Regions from separate parts of the Homo sapiens genome. Here region 2 is linked to region 1. Evidence: promoter capture Hi-C in human tissues and cell types (Jung and others, 2019). All regions are on one chromosome and are shown on one strand. The core of a region is centred on a gene start or on the middle of the fragment in contact, and the rest is flanking DNA. Distances in the headings are between cores, read along the strand shown. Region 1 holds the start of RS1 (retinoschisin 1). Region 2 holds the start of LOC124905254 (a long non-coding RNA gene).

What was found. The method cuts DNA at HindIII sites, captures the fragments that hold promoters and counts their contacts. A contact is called where the count stands out against the background at its distance.
Region 2: a fragment that was not itself captured here is called in contact with the fragment with the promoter of RS1 in region 1 in 6 of the 25 tissues and cell types used here (H1 embryonic stem cells, aorta, bladder and 3 more).

The regions. Positions count from the first base shown.
Region 1 is chrX:18,669,448-18,675,304 of GRCh38, forward strand. It overlaps RS1 (retinoschisin 1), which reads right to left and starts at 2,661. Exons shown (of 6, transcript NM_000330.4): 1 at 2,570-2,661. The coding sequence starts at 2,621. TRV-TAC1-2 (tRNA-Val (anticodon TAC) 1-2) reads right to left here and starts at 5,534; the gene lies at 5,462-5,534. It also overlaps a transcript of PPEF1 not described here. RefSeq lists a silencer at 5,459-5,645. The HindIII fragment of the contact is 16,600 bases long and covers 1-5,857 here.
Region 2 is chrX:18,831,668-18,837,524 of GRCh38, forward strand. LOC124905254 (a long non-coding RNA gene) reads left to right here and starts at 458. Exons shown (of 2, transcript XR_007068404.1): 1 at 458-505; 2 at 1,443-4,080. It also overlaps the pseudogene BLOC1S6P1. RefSeq lists an enhancer at 1,348-2,271. The HindIII fragment of the contact is 5,178 bases long and covers 1-5,068 here.

The DNA of each region.
Region 1 (5,857 bases), core at 1,411-3,910:
GCCACTGCACTCCAGCCTGGGCAACAAGAGTGAAATTCTCAAAAAAAAAAAAAAAAAGACATAGGAAATGCCTTACTGTGAGGCTGTGTGCTCTCCGAAATGAACCTTCATCCAACGCCTAAGTGAAGGCAATTTCTTTACCTTATTTCACTGTAATGAGGAGACACTGCCACTGAAGGACAGAAGCAGTGGAGGGTAAATTGGACAAACAGCCTTTGTCTTCAGGTTCCCAGCTGTACAATGGGATGCATCTTTCCCATGTCTATGGGCCTTATGCATCTCCATCTGGATAATATGCTGATTAAGTTCAGTGATTGTGTCCTCTGTCCCCTGGAGCATCCCTCTGGCCCAGGGTAGGGCACACAGTAGGTTGCCAAGCCACACTGGCTATTTTTGGCTGGCTGCTTTCCTTTCAAGTGCTGTTAAAGGCCTGCGTTAAGCAAGTAAGATAATTTAAGCTCCCCAAACCTTCCCACTGGCCCACGTTGCAGGGCACCTGGAGAGACGATGTTCTCTGCTCTTCGTGGACATTTCTGGAGCTCCCCAGCCATGCACAAAGATTGGTAAACTTTAGAACACGAAAGAGTGCTATCCTTCATGCCTCCTGACAGCCTGTCTTTTATTGCTGATATCCACTAACTGGGCAGGTCTAATTTTAAAATGCTTTGGTAAACATTTCTAGGACTTCTTCGCATCGCGGGGGTGGGGAGGTCACAGAACAGGGTTGTTAGACTCAGCACTGTGGAAGAAACAAGGATGCCCTGCATGTCAAGTCCTTTTTTTTTTTTTTTTTTTTGAGACTGAGTCTCGCTCAGTCACCCAGGCTGGAGTGCAATGGCATGATCTCAGCTCACTGCAACCTCCCTCTCCAGCAATCAGACGATTCTCCCGCTTCAGCCTCCCCCGAGTAGCTGGGATTAGAGGCACCTGCCATCATGCCCAGATACTTTTTGTATTTTTGTAGAGACGGGGTTTCACCAGGTTGGGCAGGCTGGTCTCAAACTCCTGACCTCAGGTGATAGACCCGCCTCAGCCTCCCAAAGTGCTGGGATTACAGTCATGAGCCACCGCGCCCCGCCGTCATACACAATGTTTGCCCCCTAGCAGATAGTCAGGGATGAGCTCTTAAAAGAAGGGACCAAGGAATGAATGAATGAATCTCCATGCCAATCACAAAGAAGAGAAATCCGAGAGTGAGCCCTGGGAGTGTCTGACAACCAGGAGTATTTAGATCTAAGCCTTGAAAGAGTCTGCTTAGATTTTCTTGCTGAGGAAAGAGGAGGGGGCAAGGAGTAAAAGGAAAAACAACAAAACCCCAAAGCATCTTAAAGTAGTCAGAGTTACTGGGACAAGTTGCAGACTATTAATTGCAAGGGGAAAAAATCCTAACAGACAACTGGTTTACATGATCCCTACTTAGAAATATACCTTGGGGTTTGCAGAATGACCTTGGAATTATATTGTCACCAGTCTTTCCAAATACTGAGAAATGTGACTAAGTAACAAAAGTCATCAGCCTGGGAAACATGGTGAAAACCCCTCTCTACAAGAAATACAATAAATTAGCCGGATGTGGTGGTGCGTGCCTGTAGTCCCAGCTACTAGGGAGGCTGAGGCAGGAGGATGGCTTGAGCCTGGGAGGTTGAGGCTACAGTGAGCCGTGAAACCAAGAATTCTGATTCTACTTGTGTGAGTTTCGCTGTGTCTGTCTACCAGGTCATTTGCAGAGCACAGAGACCTCCTTCTCCCTGCTTTTTAATTTATTTTCTATAACACACAAATACACGATGTCCACAAAGAAGACAGGCAACCAATTTCTAACATCTGGATGAACCTGAGGAGAAATTCTGAGCAGATGGGTACTTGAGAATTGAGAGAGGCATGAAAGAATATTATTTCAAAGATTGAGAGGGAATTGGAACTGGATGACATTTTACAGATTTGCCCTTATTTTTTCCTAATTGAAGCATATCACTTCTGCTAGGGTCATATTTAGAAATTTTAAAATGAGTGAGTGTACTGAGTCTCCGAGGTTTCCTGACTCTCAGTTGGATTATGTTTTTTATTAGATTCCAGTGGTACTGGGTATGTTACGTTAATCCATATTTAAACTAGGTTGACCTTACACCCCAATTTGCCCTGGATGGTCCTGGGTTACACCTGTCGTCCCAACAGAATTATTAATAGCATCGTCCTCCACCGTCAATAGCATTCCGGTTTGGAATATTAAATTCTACAATCACTCCCACTTTGACTCCTAAAAGTTTTCCAGAATATGCCATACTTTCTCATTAATTGTTGCAACTTATGGCTATTTTATAGATTTCTGAGACCCATCCTGTTTTCTGTTGGATTTTAAGCATCCTTTGAACTTTAGAAGGCTCCTCACAGAACTGGAAAGCCATCCACACAAAGACAACTGTTGTTCATTAATAACACATGTTAGTTAATTAACGTGTTGCTAATTAATAATATTTATATTATTCAGGCTATATTCCTATTTATCAACGATATTAATTAAATTATGTATTAAGTATGCAATGAATGTCAATGGTTGAATAGCACATACCTTCATAGCCAAAGAGAAGTAATAACAAAAAGCCTTCTATCTTGCGTGACATCTTCCCCTCGTCCTCGGCCAAAGCTCTACCTTACTGAACTGGAGAGCTGGCCCAGGAGCAGGGGATTAAGTTGAGCCCTGGCCTCATTAAGCATCTTAATCCATTTAGTTCTTAGGTCTTTGGCTGAGCCCCATCAAGTTAACCCACAGAGTTACCTGCCTCAACAAGGAAGTCTCATGGAAGATACTAGCATCAACTGAGATTCAGTTCGCGAGGAAGATACTTTTCGTTCTTTTTTTTTTTTTTTTTTTTTTTTTTGAGATGGAGTTTCGCTCTTGTCACCCAGGCTGGAGTGCAATGGCGCCATCTCGGCTCACTGCAACCTCTGCCTCCCGGGTTCAATCTAGTCTCCTGCCTCAGCCTTCCGAGTAGCTGGGATTATAGGCTCACGCCACCACGCCCAGCTAATTTTTGTATTTTTAGTAGAGATGGGGTTTCGTCATGTCAGTCAGGCTGGTCTCGGACTCCTGACCTCAGGTGATCCACCCACCTCGGCCTCCCAAAGTGCTGGGATTACAGGCGTCAGCCACTGCGCCCGGCCCATACTGTTCATTCTATCTTAATGTAAGGGAAGCAATGGAGGGAGAGAACTACAACCAGAAGTCTCAGGTTTTCGTCCTTTCTTCGCCATCATTTTTTAGGGGGTGACCTTGAACAATTTCCTGCCACATAAGCACTAACATTCTCGAATTGTATGAAAATGTCATGGATTCCCCTCTTTGAAAGCAACTAGGCATCATGTGCACACCTATTCACTCAGGAAAATGCTAAATTTGGTGGTGGTGGGAGGACAGTTAACACAAAGCTGTGCATTGCTGTGTTACTTTTAACAACAACAAATTGGAAACAATCTAAATGGCCAAGGTTAGGGGGCTGGTTAAGTAAATCAAGAGATGAGTGCAGCCTGGTAGGTTTAAGAGCACAGACTGCCAACCCAGACTGGGTGCCAAATCGCAGCACTAGCACTTGTTACATTGTGACCTCAGGGCAAGTTATTAATATCTCTGCGCCTAAACTTTCTCATCTGTAAGATGATGATAATAATGCCTACTTTCGAGAGTTATTTTGAGGCTTACAAGAGATCATATGTATAAAATACTTAGCACAGTGCTAGACATAATTAGCTATTATTTTTACATCACCATTCAGAATAAAGTTGATGGGAGGAAAAGGGGAGTTGTTTAATAGGTATAGAGTTGAGTTTTGCAAGATGAAAAAGTTCCCGAGATCTGTTTCACAACAATGTGAATATACTTAACACTACTGAACTGTACACTTAAAAATGATTATGGTGGGCTGGAGGTGGTGGCTCACACCTGTAATCCCAGCACTTTGGGAGGCCAAGGCAGGCAGATCACTTGAGGTCAGGAGTTCGAGACCAGCCTGGGCAACATGGCGAAACCTCGTCTCTACCAAAAATACAAAAATTAGTCGGGCGTGGTGGCGTGCACCTATAATCTCAGCTACTCGGGAGGCTGAGGCAGGAGAATCGCTTGAACCCAGGAGGCCGAGGTTTCAGTGAGCCGAGATTGTACCACTGCACTCCAGCCTGGGTGACAGAGCCAGACTCTGTCTCAAAAAAAAAAAAAAATGGTTAAGGTGGTTTTAAAAAAGGCCGGGCACGGTGGCTCAAGCCTGTAATCCTAGCACTTTGGGAGGCCGAGGCGGGCGGATCACGAGGTCAGGAGATCGAGACCATCCTGGCTAACACGGTGAAACCCCGTCTCAACTAAAAATACAAAAAATTAGCCGGGCGAGGTGGCAGGCGCCTGTAGTCCCAGCTACTCGGGAGGCTGAGGCAGGAGAATGGTGTGAACCCGGGAGGCAGAGGTTGCAGTGAGCTGAGATCACGACACTGCACTCCAGCCTGGGCGACAGAGTGAGACTCCGCCTCCAAAAAAAAAAAAAAGAATAAAGTTGATGAAGTGATTGTAATAACAGGGAAAGAGTTACACTCAAGTTAGAAAAAGACGCAAATTTCTACACTGTTAAGGATGCATAACTAGGTTGAAAATGCAGAGAAAAATACTGAGTGCCCCTTCCCATTTTATATTTTTTGCTACCACCATCTCACCATGGCCCACACCCTCATTCCTCTTGTCAAAGATAAAAAAGCCAATATTTAAACAAATAATAAACTCCCCAAAGGAAACTGTAATGAAATAGTAAAGAGGAACAGAAAGAAACTAGAGAAACGTTTGCTCATTCAACCAGTATTTATTGAATGTCTACAAGCCTGACATTTATTTTATACTGTGTATGAACTCTATTCCACAAATTCTACTGCTGCATTAAAAGGGACTGTGGGGTTTTTTTTTTTTCGTGCTCTGCACATCAGAGTTTAATGAAAAATAGAACTTTTAATCAGAGTCATAATCATGACCGACCTTTAATAATTCACCTGCAGTCAAAGCGCTGCTGTATTGCCTGCCACATTTTAGTTGGAGGTTGGGTGGCCGGCCCTTGCTGGCTTGCAGGCAAAGGGCAGCCAGGTGCATTCCCCGAGCGCCCGATTTTCCGAGGCGTACTGGGAGGAGAGGTGGGGTAGGGCCCGGCCGGATCGGGGGCGCCGGATCGGGTCTAGGACTTCGCCCGGCCCCTGCCCTCCACTACTTCTCATGTCGGACTATGGCGGCAGTGACCTTGTGGGATAGGAGAGGGTATCTGTCATTTCACTTCTGCGAGAAAAACATGCCAAAAAATTAAAAAGAAAAAAAGGACAAAGAAAAACACTTCGTTGTCGCTTTTTGGTTTTTTTTGTTTGTTTAACCCAAACCCTTTTTTTTTTTTAACCCAAACAACGAAACCCTATAAAAGCAAAAACAGCCGCCTTACGGCTATGGTTCCACTGGGGCTCGAACCCAGGACCTTCTGCGTGTAAAGCAGACGTGATAACCACTACACTATGGAACCTCTACGAGGAAGAATATTGTTGGGACTTTATTCATAGACTCACAGCAGTTCCGGTCCCTCCGCCGGAGCCCCGCCTCTCCACCGTGACCCCGCCCCCGAGGCGAGGAGTTTGCGGCGGCTTCGAGTCTCGGGCTCCGGCGTTTGGGCGGCTTGTCTTCCCTGCCCGCCACAGTCGCGGCCCCTGGGACCAGGGCGAGGCCGGAACCCCGGCCGAGAGCACCTCCCTGCTATCATCTGTCCCCAAACTTTCCCTCAATCGAGGCGCCGGCGGGGCGGCCCGGCGGCCGGAAGTGCACCCTGCTCGGGCTTTGCGCCCCCGGCAG
Region 2 (5,857 bases), core at 1,230-3,729, 160 kb after region 1:
CGCCACTGCACTCCATCCTGGGCGACAGAGCAAGACTCTGTCTCAAAAAAAAAAAAAAAAAAACAAAAGATGCCGGGATACCTGATCTACACCAACTAATTTACATGTTGGTGGGATCTGGAAAGCCCAAAAATAGATGAAAGAGGCAGAATGGTATTTTCCTAAGAGTTATATTAGTGACCTGACAAGCCCCACCTGGTCCATTTACGGGTCAGACAAACCCTGAAAGATTGCAAATGACCTTAGGAAAGCTATTTCCAAAGTATTTCAGCTCTATGGCAACCAACAACCTAGAATGACTTGTGGGCCTGCCCCAGGGCATTCCAATAAGCAACCCCTAAAACTGCGGTTTCGAAAAACTAGTTGTCATTTGTGCAAATGATCAAAACATTGAAAAAGGGACTGCTCCCAAAGAACTTGAGAGAAGCCCTTAAAAACAAGCTGCCTACCTCTGATCATCTCTATGTTAACCACCAAGACTGACAGGCCTCCGAAGACAGCTCTGGTAAGTTTCTACTGGTTAGTTTTTGCCCTGTTTGTTAAAAAGCTCTGCCCTGAAGGCAATGATCTAAGTAAGGAACAGGATTTTGAAATTCTTTCTAAGAGAAATTTATATCTGTAAAGGAAATCTCCATTTGTAAGGCTATCTCCCTCTCTGCACCTAAACCATTAGAAACTTTTACAATGAGAAAGGCACTGGCTTAAAAGCTTGCATATCAACGTTTACCTTTGTTTAAGTTGCTTTTCCTGTCCATCTTTTTTTTTTTCTGAGATGGAGTCTTGCTCAGTCGCCCAGGCTGGAGTGCGGTGGCGTGATCTTGGCTCACTGCAAGCTCTGCCTCCCGGGTTGGTTCACCCCATTGTCCTGCCTCAGCCTCCCCAGTAGCTGGGACTACAGGTGCCGGCCACCATGCCCGGCTAATTGTTTTTGTATTTTTAGTAAAGACGGGGTTTCACAGTATTAGCCAGGATAGTCTCGATCTCCTGACCTCGTGTTCCGCCCACCTCGGACTCCCAAAGTGCTGGGATTACAGGAGTGAGCCACCGCGCCCGACCGGGCAAATGAATCTTAATGAAAGCAATAAGATCTGCTTCTTTCTGTGTGTATGTTTGTATATCTATGTGTTATGTGTATCTGATATTTTCATACCAAAATATATAAAAGAGCTCTATTTAATTGGCTTAAAGAAAAAGTGTTTAAAGTCATTAATTATAAAGCAAGCATATTTTTCCCCTAAATTTACTAGTCAAACAAGCTTATTACCTCTTAGATGTATAATAAAGCTATAAAGCCAACCAAAGAGCAAAATACATGAAAAAAAAAAAAATCTTGATACCTATCAGTCATGGTGATACAGAAGGGCTGGGCTCCTGGCTAAACCCAACCCATAAGCCTGGAACCTTGGCCCTAAGTGAAAACAGCTGACCCCGTTTTTTTCCAGCCAAATGTTGCCGTTTTTGGCCTGCCCTGCCCCTATCCTTTGCCGATGAAAGACTTCAGCTGGCAGAGCAACACAAGTGGCTGAATGTCAAGGATACAAGCAGCTGAGTGGTGAGCAGAGAAGCAGTGCGCGTCAGAGACTATGGATAGACACGGCTAACTTCAGGCGGTGCGGCTTCGGAGAGGAGCCCAGCCAGAGACGGCCGGGCTTCAGGGAAAGATCACCCTCCCATCCCCTTTCCAGCCTCCCTTTCTGCTGAGAGCCACCCACCGCTCAATAAAGTCTGCATTCATCACCTTTCTAACAGTTCATCGGACATGAACCCAGGTTCTGAGAGGGCAGGGTTTGCCACCCTGACCCTCCACTGACCTGGTTGGCACTTGGCCATCCCCGGATGGCAGAACTGAAAGAGCATTGGTCGTAACATGCTTGGACGCTGCTGCAGGGCCCACAAGAGCCTGCTCCCACCAGAGAAGAGTGACCAGTCGGTCCCAGGATTCATTTGCTCTGGTTCCTGCACTCACTCGCTTGCACGCTCCCTCCTGCCAAGAGTAGCCAGTGCGGGCTGAGTGGAATGAGCTACTCCAGTTTCCGCCCACGAAGGAGTTCAAGAGAACTAACCCGTCCCAATAGGAAAGGGAAAAAAAGCAGAGTGGAAGAACCATGTTTAACCTATTAATCTTTTTGCTTCTGTAATACTTATAGTTTCCTGATTTTTTTGAAAAATAACTTGAGGTGATGGCTAGCTTTGCTTAATGAACAACTCAAGCATAATTGTTAAAAATGAGTAAATTAGGTGTATGTAAATGGTATACAAATTGATAAATGAACTTTTCAGTTTTGAAAACCTTTTACCGTAACTTAAAGTCCTGTTATGATTAAGTAATATTCATGAACTGTCTGAGTCATTTCCAATTAAGTTAGAATACTGAAACATTAATTTGAACGTAACTTTAAATTTATTTTTGGCTTCTTAAATTTTATAGAAAGACTAAATATGGCTGGGTGCAGTGGCTCATGCCTGTAATCCCAGCACTTTGGGAGGCCGAGGTGGGCGGATCACGAGGTCAGGAGTTCCAGATCAGCCTGGACAACATGGTGAAACCCCGTCTCTACTAAAAATACAAAAATTTGCTGGGCGCGGTGGTGGGCTTCTGTAATCCCAGCTACTCAGAGGCTGAGGCAGGAGAATTGCTTGAACCCAGGAGGTGGAGGTTGCAGTGAGATCGCGCCACTGCACTCCAGCCTGGGTGACAGAGCAAGACTCTGTCTCAAAAAATAAGATAAAATAAAGACTGAATATATTTTAGTCTATTTAAAGAAAAGCTATGGAAAAATAAATATATTTTGGTCTGTTAATATGAAAAATTGTACTTTGAGAAAGTGCATATTTCTAGAAATTATGAAACTTAATTTATAGAATACTGATTCACAATTGCTAAGGATTAAAAATTCCAATAATAAAACTACTATAAAGGAATTCTGTATGCAAACTAAAGAAAGTAAGATGTGTTTTGGTGAGGAAAAAATAGAAGGATACTTTTTTCTTAAAAAGAATAATTTTGTCTAATTTGGAGGTTATTTAAAAGTTGTTTCAAAATAAGGATTTTGGAAGGAAATAGAAATGAGGTAGGGAGGAACCAGTAAGAGGGATGTCAAGAAAGTTACAAGTATGAAAACGTATGTTTGGCTTAAAAAAAAGTTGAAAAGAGAAAAAGTAATTTTTTTTTTGTATGAGGAAGAATTTGTGTTGTCAAAATGATAAGGGAAAAAGGAAAGTAAATTTTTGTCATAAAGTAGAATGATTGGTTGTTCCAATATGAAAAAGAAGGAAGTATAGAACAAAACTGAAGGTTTAAGCAAGTTGTACAAGATTTGAGCAAGTTCTAAGAGATCTGAGCAAGTTGTAGGTGTGTAGGAGATGAATCCTATGAAAAGAATTTTGTAGGCCAGGCGAGGTGGCTCACACTTGTAATCCCAGCACTTTGGGAGGCCGAGGTGGACGGATCACTTGAGGTCAGGAGTTCGAGACCAGCCTGGCCAACATGGCAGAACCACGTCTCTGCTAAAAATAAAAAAATTAGCTGGGTGTGGTGGTGCATGCCTGTAATCCCAGCTACTCGGGAGGCTGAGGCAGGAGAATCACTTGAACCCGGGAGGCAGAGGCTGCAGTGAGCCGCAACTGCGCCATTGCACTCCAGCCTGGGTGACACAGCAAGACCCTGTCTCAAAAAAAAAGAATTTTGTATGTGATCAAGTTGGCAAAAATTGGAAGGGAATTATTTATAGGGTTTTCTAAAAATTAAGCTTTGAGATCAAAAGTACACTAATACAAAACTAAAATTTAGTCCCCTATGTTAAAACAAGGTTTTCTTAGAGTATTCATCTTTTTTTTTTTTCCGGAGACCTTTTTTTGTATTAAATGTGTAAACAGTAGTCCTCATTTTACAAATTCAAAATCAGACAAATGTATGAGGGTGTATAATTGGTATATTTATAAACTGTATCACCCAAAAAACCACTGCGATCACAATCTATATTACATTCAACGTTTGCGTATTTACATGATACTTACTGCAAAGTAAATACAAAATGAACTCCCATCATCTTAGTTCAGAACACAGGTGATATAATTTCAGAACAAAGGCAGTTTTTTCAACAACAACAACAACAAAAAAACAGAAGTCTCCCAAGTACCAATTCGCTATTTTGTGGAAAAATACAGAAAGACTAATTATGAGTTCCATTCAGGTTTAGTCAGTAAGATATGTTGTTTGTTTTTTTTAGAGACAGGGTCTCACTCTGTCATCTGGGCTGGAGTGCAGTGGTGCAATTATAGCTCACTGCAGCCTCGAACTCCTGGGCTCAATGAGTCCTCCCACCTCAGCCTCCTAAAGCACTGGGATTACATACATGAGATACCACACTCAGTCTAGTAAGATATGTTTTTGTTATTGAAATACAGCTAAAGTTATAGATTTTAATCACCAAGATAACAGTACTTCTGGTTTATAATCGACCTTAAGATAGTGGATACTAATATATATACATTTTGACATTTTTTTAAAAAGTCTTCAAAACTTAATACAATTCTGAAAGTATATGTACCTTGCCATCCGTTCAATAAACATGATTTATTTTTATACAGGTCACAAAATTTCAATTAACTAGAATTCTATATCTATTGCCTGCCTGCTAGGTTTCAGTCTTAAGTCTGACTATATCAAAAACAGCAGTTCAGAATTTATTTCATAAAATTAATCCCAAAAGTTACTGGGTAGCTTTTAAAGTATTTTATTGTTTATAATACAACTCACTAGATAGTCTATACCGGTGGCTCCTGACATCAGAATTATCTGGGGAGCTCTTTAAAAAATACATGGGATCCACATCATAGCTAATTACACTAAAAGAATTGAGAATGTCTGTATTTTTTAATGTTCCCAGGTGATAATGCTGTGCAGCCTAGTGTGGGAAACCCTGACCTACCACTGAGCCTGTGGTTCTCAATTTTTCAGGTGCATTGGAATCACTGGGGGAAACTTTAAAAACTAAAAGCAAGGCAAAACAAAAAACCAGATGTGCTTCAGTAGATTGAGAGTAGTGTGCAGGAACCAGCATCTGAAACAACCATTGCAGTTGGTCCAAAATGACCCAGAAACACTGCACCCCCTCTGTCAGATATCACATTACAATGAGTACATTCAGCAATTTAGGTGACATTGTCCTGCAAGCCCTAATGAATCCTGCCCTAGGCAGTTTTAGCAAGTGTTTGAGGGCACCACTCAGCCTTTTCAAAGAAAATATATTTATACTCTTAAATATTAGGTCAAAGTCAACTGAATTGTGAGATCATCATTCATTAAAGAAGACAAATGCCCTTTCAAACAATTTAAACTTTTTTTTTTTTTTTTTTGAGACAGAGTCTTGCTCTGTCACCCAGGCCGGACGCCAATGGTGCCGTTTCAGCTCACTGCAACCTCCGCCTCCCGGGTTCAAGCAATTCTTCTGCCTCAGCCTCCCAAGTAGCTGGGACTACAGGTGCGTGCCACCACACCTGGCTAATTTTTGTATTTTTGGTAGAGATAGGGTTTCACTATGTTGGCCAGGCTAGTTTCGAACTCCTGACCTCATGATCTGCCCACCTCGGCCTCCCAAAGTGCTGGGATTACAGGCATGAGCCACCGTGCCTGGCCACAATTTAAACTTTTAAACAAACCAGTTCTTAGCCCTGAACTTAAATCCAATGCTTTCTCCATCATTAGCCTGATACGTGATCAGAGGTAGTGATTCCAGCTTACCAAAAATATAATGTGGATTATGGAAGATACACATTCATACACTTTTACAGGCTCTGCACAGTCCCTATGTAATAGAGATTGGAGACCAGTTGGATATTAAATAATACTGTAAAA